Regions from separate parts of the Homo sapiens genome. Here region 2 is linked to region 1. Evidence: promoter capture Hi-C in 16 types of primary human blood cells and fetal thymus (Javierre and others, 2016). All regions are on one chromosome and are shown on one strand. Each heading gives the region's core, a stretch centred on a gene start or on the middle of the fragment in contact. The rest is flanking DNA. Distances are from core to core; before and after follow the strand shown.

Region 1 (3,948 bases), core at 710-3,209:
TGATTCTCCTGCCTCAGCCTCCCAAGTATATGGGATTACAGGCGTCCGCCACCAACGCCCAGCTAATTTTTGTATTTTTAGTAGAGACAGGGTTTCACCAGGTTGGCCAGGCTGGTCTTGAACTCCTGACCTCAAGCGATTCACCCACCCAAAGTGCAGGGATTACAGGCATGAGCCACTGCACCTGGCACTTCTTATAACCCTGTTCACAAAGACAGGGAGCTGTATTTCAACTTCATATCCCCAGAACCTAACAGAGTGTCTAGTAAGCAAGAAAGGTACTCAAGGCATATAATGAATAAATGAAGCCGGAGCTGAGGGGATGTCATTTTAAAGGCCCTGGAACGGGAAAAGTGAGTTTCTGAGAATTTGAAACCTTGAGGCCAACCTCAAGGCCTTTGCGCATATTACTCTCTCCGCCTAGAACACTCTTCCCTCTCTTCACCTGGTTAACCACTGTGCCTAATAAACATCACCTCCTTAGAGTAGACCTCCCTAAGCCGTTTAAATAGTATCTGCTGTGATCAACTGTCATTGAATGTGAGTGCTGCTGGGTATCCTATTACTCAACATTCTTAGAAATTACAGAATTGGCCAGGCACAGTGGCTCACACCTGTAATCCCAACACTTTGGGAGGCTGAGGCAGGCGGATCACCTGAGGTCAGGAGTTCGAGACCAGCCTGATCAACATGGTGGAACCCCATCTCTACTAAAAATACAAAAATTAGCCGGGCGTGGTGGCGTCTGCACCTGTAATCCCAGCTACCAGGGAGGCTGAGGCAAGAGAATCGCTTGAACCCAGGAGGTGGAGGTTGCAGTGAGCCGAGATCATGCCACTCCACTCCAGCCTGAGCGACAGGGAAAGACTCCGTCTCAAAAAAAGGAAAAGAAAAAGAAATTACAGAATTTTCTCTAAACTTTTATATCATAATAGGTATCATTTATTGAAGGTATATGGTATGCCAGGCAATGTGCAAAATGTTTTACATTTAACCTTCATAGTAAACCTGACAGGTGAATATAGTTTATATTTTCCCATTCCAGATGAGGCAATTTGAGGCCCAGGAAGTCTGACACACTCCCAACAGCCACAGTAAGTGACTAAGCGGCTGAAAAGAACCACTACACAGTATTTCCCAAAGTCTGGACCACCTAAATCAGAATCAGCTGGCACGCTTGTGCAAATGAAAATTCCTGCCTCCACCCTGGTCTTACTGAACACCGTGGCAGGCACCATGCCCAGAAATCTGCCTTTTAAACAAGCTCCCTGAGTGACTTTTACACACTCTCAAGTTTGAGAACCAGTGCTCTCCTTTATGCGGAAACTAAGAAAAACTTTTCCAGTTACATTTGGGGATTGCAGCGGCAGCTTTTGAATTCCTATATAAGAAAGATTTAGGGCCCACAAACGGGTGGGATTATGGGATTTGTATGGAAGCCGAATCTGCATAGCACGCATCCTGTTTTTCCTAAGATTAGGTGAAGTCTGGACTTCAACTGGGTGCCTCAGGAACGCGGCTAGCAGATGGAGATTATCAGGGGGATCTAAATCCCGGATAACCCGCTCGCGCCGCCACCACCAGCTGGATGGCTTGAGGGACCCCCTCCAAGTATGGCCCACTGCAGCAAAGATCAGGGACTACTTGCGGGAAGCAGCTGGGCCTGTCCTTTCTTGGGATGTCCAGGCGGCCGCCTCGGCCCTTGCCGAAGAAAGATCCCTGGACCGCAGGCGAGAAGTGGTAGCATCCGGCGGCGGCGGAGCGGGCGCGTCGGGTTTTTCCTCGGAACAAGAGGTCCGCAGAGCCTCGGCCCTCCAAACGCACCGCTGCTCCTCCCAGCACCAGGACGGCGGGCGGAGGGTGGCCCGGCTGCATCCGGGGACGCGCTTACCTGCTGCTCGGCCGCGGACACTCGCGCTATCCCAGCCCGGCCGCCACCTCCGCAGCCGTCACCCGGGCAACCGCCGCCGCCACCCCGGCGTCACGTGGGGGCGGCGCAGCCAATCGCGCGGGGCGCCGCCGACGCGGAGCAGCCTGGGAGGGAAGGTGGGCGACCCCGAAACTTCCTGGCGGCGGAAGTGAGGGTCCACAGCCCAGCAGTGGTGAAGGTTCACGCGCTGGATGACCGCGTCTTCTGTGGTCCTCTCCACCACTCCACTTTCGTTCGTTCATTCATTCGTTCATTTCCCTTTCGTTGCGCCAGTCGCTGCGCCGGCTCTCGGGATGAGCCGGAGCAGGCTCAACCCCTTGTCTCAAGGAGCTCGTGGTCGCGTAGAGAACACAAACTAGGACAGTGTGGTGTCCGTGGGGAAAGAGTCAGGCATGGTTATTCCCATCTTAAAGGAGGGACCTGGGGCCACCTTAGAACCAAAAGTGACGCCCAAGATGTGCATTAAAGCTCCGGGGACCAGGGTCCCGCCCCACTGCAGCGGTTTCCAAGGATTTCAGAGAAACTTTTTGTTTTCCATGTCAAATGTGGGCTATTAAAAATAAATCAGGAGCACACGTCTTCCCTCTCTTTGCACCTGATGCTTTTGAACTGAAGTTCATCAGCACTGAATGAGCACTTGCTAGTCACCCAACTTTGTGCTGGAGGGTGAAGAGATGGCCATGGATAGAAAATCCCTCCCCTCCAGGCGTTGAGATTCCGTGGGAGTCTCTCGTTGCCACCTCAGTGTTTCCACCTCCATGCTTCCAAGAAGGAGGAGGCTACCAGGGCCAGAGACAGGGAATGGGGCACGGAGAAGGTAGGTCAGCTCGCCTTTGAAGAAGCCCTAAGATGGGCTGTGGCCACCACTTCCCCAGTCCCCAACCCTGCCAGTGGATTGTCTTCCAAAAGAAAAAAAGCTGTATTTAGTAGAAGAGAGCCCTATCTTCTGTCCAGGTAATATGGATTGAAAATAAATCTTCAATCCATGGCCATAATATTTATCGTCAACACAACTGTATGCCGGGAGATGCCAGACAAAATATAGAACACACAGTTAAATGTAAATTTTAGATAATGTTTTAGTGTAAGTAAATCCCAAAAACTGCTTCATTTTATTGTGCATGTAGGATGTTATATTGTTCTGTATTTTTGTTTGCAAAACGTGCAGCCTATATGTGTGCCCAGCATTGTGCTAAGTGAATCATATAGATTGTTTTCTTTAGTTCTCACACCAGGCCCGGCACGGTGGCTCACACCTGTAATCCCAGCACTTGGGAGGCCAAGGCAGATGGATCACCTAAGGTCACAAGTTTCAGACCAGCCTGGCCAACATGGTGAAACCTGTCTCTACTAAAAATACAAAAATTAGCTGGGCGTATTGGCATGTGCCTGTAGTCCCAGCCACTCGGGAAGCTGAGGCAGGAGAATCCTTGAACCCGGAAGATGGAGGTTTCAGTGAGCCGAGATCACGCCACTGTACTCCAGCCTGGGCAACAGAGTGAGACTCTGTCTCAAAAAAAAAAAAGTTTTTAATTCTCACACCACATCTATGAGATGAATAATATTTTCAGCATTTTACTGATTGACAATGTTGTAATTAACCTGAGCTGTGTGCTCTTAGAAAACAGCCACAGTTAAGAAATCTCACCCACGCACCCCCAAACCTTTTGTTTTCTAAAATCCTCCACACTTTTGTGTTCTGGGAAGTAGCTTATCAGAAAGAACTACCCTTCCACATATGACTTCATCAGACCCACAGTCCTGTCTTTCTCATGCCTCCCATATGATGCACGGATGACCCCCTTGTTTACCTGTGACAAGGACAAATGCAGACCTTTTCCCTTCTGCCTGAGTCTGCCGGCAAGGCCAAGGACAGACTTTTCAGCTTCTCATTCTTTGTCTCATGGTTGATTAGCTGAGATTAGAGCTGTCTGTTTTGTCTTTGGCAAGATGAACAACATGAGGCATACGGGATTAAGAAACTCCTCAAAGTTTACACCACTGAGGAGACCAGGACT
Region 2 (3,643 bases), core at 709-3,208, 200 kb before region 1:
CCCCCTTGGGAGGCTGGGTGGTCCCAGACGGGCAAGTGGACCTGGGCACAGGCTCAGTCCCGGAGTCCCTAAGCTGTCAGGGTAGGGTCCCGCTTCCTCTCCCACCCTGCCCTTTCTTTCTCCCACCCTGCCCTCTCCTCAAGGAGCACTGTGGAATCAGGCCCTGACGCTTACAAGCTGAATGAGTGGTTTACAACCACTCTGAGCCACGATTTCTTCTTCCCCCAAATGGGGCTAAAACACAGGATTGGAGTGCTATATAAAGTACCAGGCAGCGGGTGCACAGTTAGGGGAATGCTGTCACCTTAACAGGAGGGCCTCAGGTGGAAACCTCTGCCCTGTTCCCCACGCCTGGAACCCCAATGCCTTTCATTTCCCTGCGGTGTACCTACCCACAGCAGTAGGTATCGGTATCATTAGGTGACTCAGAGCCAGAGTCATTGAGAGGGCACCCTCTGATCCTCTGTGCCGCCCGGGAGCTCCATCACATGTGGGGCACATTGGAGAGTGGCTCGAGCTTGGGACCTGAGGAAGACTGGCCCTCCTCCCCCTTCTCCAGTCTGTCTCACCCAACAAAGAGCAGCCCTCATGGTTGATGGAGGCCCAAGGATGCAGTGAGCACCTCTAGCATGGCACTGCCCCTCACCCCTACCTTAACATCCCCAGCTCATAACACCCCATTAGAAGACATGAGGCTACAGCTCTACTCCCTGGGAGGGGGCACATTTGCAGCTCCAGCCCTTGAGGGACCCTTCTTGCCCAGAGACCCCCCCACCCCAACCCCGGTCCACACCCATTTCGGAAGCAGAAATTAGAGCTCTCTGCCAGGAGTGCTGGTCGTCCCAAGCCCTGGGGCCTGAGCCCCTGTCCTGAAGGACCTCCTCTCTTCATCTCACCCTCCGGGGGCTGCCAGGACACCTGCCCCACCCTCCCCAGTGGAGACCTGGGGGCTGAGAGCTCTGGGGACAGCAGAGTGGCCTTCCAGGGCCAGCCTAGCAGAGAGATGGCGCTGACCTCCAAGGGGGAGGAGCAGGGTGCCAGGAGAGACAGGCAGCCCGTGGAGACGCCTGGGTTGCCCTGAGGGCTGGTCCGGTTGCAGGTCCAGGCCCCAGGGTGAATGCAGGCTGAGCCCCATAGAGCGACATTTTCCCCATAGGGTCCCCAGGTTGCTGGGGCATGTGGTTGGAGGAAGACAGGGGCACCTTAGGTGCAGGCTGGGGGGTGTGACCCAAGGTCCAGCTCTCCGGGGAGGAAACGGAGGGCTCCGGATCCGGCCCTGCCAGCCCTAGGGGTTCCAGGGAAGCCGCCCACCGAGGCCGGGACGGGGGAGGTCGGGGGGTGCACCGGGAAGGCGGCGAGGCCCTGGGCTGCGGGCGCTCCACCTGCCGGGTCCGCTCCATTCGTAGGGAAAGCCCGGGAGGGGCGGAGAGGGGCCGGGCGGGCGGCGGTCCGAGGTCCCGCGGAAGGAAGCCCCGAGAGGAGGAGAGTGGCCCGGACGCAGGGGGCCCTCAGGGGTCTGGAAGGGAGAGGGGACCCAGCTGCCGGCAAGACCTGGGGTCCCAGCCGCCAGGGTCCTGGAGCGGTGTCCAGGGCCGCGGGGCCGGGGAGCTGAGCGCGGCGCCCCGAGACCCCTCGACGTCCCCCACGGGTCCGGGGCCGCGTACCGCGAACATCTCCCGCCGCCGCCGCCGCGCCCGCCCGCCCATCCGCCCCCGGGAAACTGAGGCCGGCGCGGCGCGCGCGGGGGCATCTCCTATCCCGGGAGTCCCGGCGCCCGTCTGTGGCCACGGAGGAGGGGGAGCCCCGGGCCCACGCCCCCGCCCAGGCCCCCGACGGCCCCCAGCCCCACTCACCACAGCGACATGGCGGCCCGGGCCGGAGCGGCGGAGGGGCGAGCGGCTCGCAGCTCTGGGCGCCACGGCTCGGGCCGGCGGGACGGCGGGCGGGTGGGGACGGAGACCGGGCCGCGCCCCCGCCGCGACTTTCCTCTTCCCGGCCGCGGGAGGAGGGGCCGGCAGGGGCGGTGGCCCAGGTGCCTTAACCCCTTCGGCGCCCAGGGCCCGCCCCGCCGCCGCCTGGCGGGGACCACCCCATTTCTCCGAGACGGCCCCTAGGCTCCCCAAGCGCGCCTAGTAGACAGTGCATGGCCGAGGCGGGGCTTCGGAACCCACGGGGGTCACCTCCAATCCCGGGGACGCCTGTCCCTGGCGGAGCCTCCCGGGGCGGGGGGAGGGCGGTCGCCGGTCCCTCCTGTACTTGTGCGAAACCTGAACACCCGGTCCCCTCCAAGACCCTGGGGCACCCCAAGGCCCAGCCATTTCCCTCTGGCCCCATTCGGACTTGTCTTTGGGGCCAGAGGCAGACAGGGTGTCCTTTTCTCCCTCTGCTACCTTCTGCCCCTGCACCTTTCCCCTGACCAGACGGACCCCTTGCCCAGCTGTTGGGCTACCTAGGGCCAGGAGCAAAGCCAGCCACTAGGGAAAGAGGCCGTATGAGACTGGGCTCCATGTCAGGACTCGCCCAGGCCTGTGGCTCTGGAAGCTTTTTTTGTGCCCCCACCATGTCCCTCTCTTCACCTCTGGGGTTCCTCCCACCTCTGAGGGCTCCCCACCACCAAGGGAAGGCCTGTTGGCCCAGCCCTATCTCCTTTCTTTTTTCACTTATCACTCAAAACCCTTTTTGTCCTCAAGCCTTTATTAGTCTGCTTGTGCACATCAGGCCTAGCGGCTCTGGGGAGTGGGCTGACAGAGAACACGGAGAGGGCTTGGTCCAGCCAGGTGACTTCCAGAATCCTCCAGCAGGGAGAGCCATCGCTGGTCCTGTTGTTGCTCAGGTTGTTCTGGTCTTGTTCCGGGTTGAGGTTTCGGTGCTTAGCATCCAGCAGGACCTCCAAAAGGCCCACAGAATTGAAACGGAAGCACGTTGTGGTCCAATCATAACAGCTAACGTCCACTGAGCAGCTACAATATGCCAAACCTGGTTCTCGGCCCATGCATGACTGGCTCACTTAATCCTAGAGACATACGCTATTATTCCCACCTTACAGGGGAGGAAACGGGGGTGCAGAGGGGAACTCCCAGCCAGCTCAGAGAACAGCGAGCCCAGAGTTAGTAAGCACATCCAGGAGGCCTGCATGGCCTGAAGGCTGGCTCTGAACCCTTCCTGCCTGGTCTGAAGGCTGGCTCTGAGCCCTTCCTCAACCTTTTTTCCTTTCCCAGGGACAGCAGTGACATGGAGCTACTTTCCTGCCCAGCACACAGGGAGGCTAGGAGTCCTCAGCTGGATCTTAAGCCCTCGAGGCCAGGGTGAGGAGCCCCTTCTGCCCTATCCTTAAGGTTCAAGGGCCCTTTGGAGGGGGAGGAGAAACTTAAGGTACCATAGAATGTTCTGGAATGTTGTAAGTGCCAATTAGGGAATGTGAAGGGCCTTTCAGGCAGAATTTCAGAGGAGTATCTTGGGGCTGATGTCCTTTGTAATGGCCCTCCAAAAGTTCCAGAGCAGGGGAGGGGCTGACCTGCAGCCCAAAGCCCCTGTTGGCCTGGCTGCCTGCCACTGAGGGCCACCCGCAGATTCTGCAGCTCCACGGCTCCCTTCATCCCAGTGTAGCCTTGGCCACCGGTTCCCGCAGGGCACCAAGCATTTT

Evidence for each region. The method cuts DNA at HindIII sites, captures the fragments that hold promoters and counts their contacts. A CHiCAGO score of 5 or more calls a contact.
Region 2: the fragment with the promoter of B3GNT7 here is called in contact with the fragment with the promoter of ARMC9 in region 1 in 12 of 17 cell types (endothelial precursors, total B cells, erythroblasts and 9 more); the score reaches 12.0 in endothelial precursors.

What each region holds. Positions count from the first base shown.
Region 1 is chr2:231,196,642-231,200,589 of GRCh38, reverse strand. ARMC9 (armadillo repeat containing 9) reads right to left here and starts at 1,959. Exons shown (of 25, transcript NM_001352754.2): 1 at 1,892-1,959. RefSeq lists a silencer at 1,814-2,153. The HindIII fragment of the contact is 12,461 bases long and covers 1-3,948 here.
Region 2 is chr2:231,394,025-231,397,667 of GRCh38, reverse strand. It overlaps B3GNT7 (UDP-GlcNAc:betaGal beta-1,3-N-acetylglucosaminyltransferase 7), which reads right to left and starts at 1,958. Exons shown (of 2, transcript NM_145236.3): 1 at 1,854-1,958. The coding sequence starts at 1,864. RefSeq lists enhancers at 347-416, 1-558, 2,827-2,876, 3,172-3,643 and a silencer at 1,807-2,276. The HindIII fragment of the contact is 8,411 bases long and covers 1-2,543 here.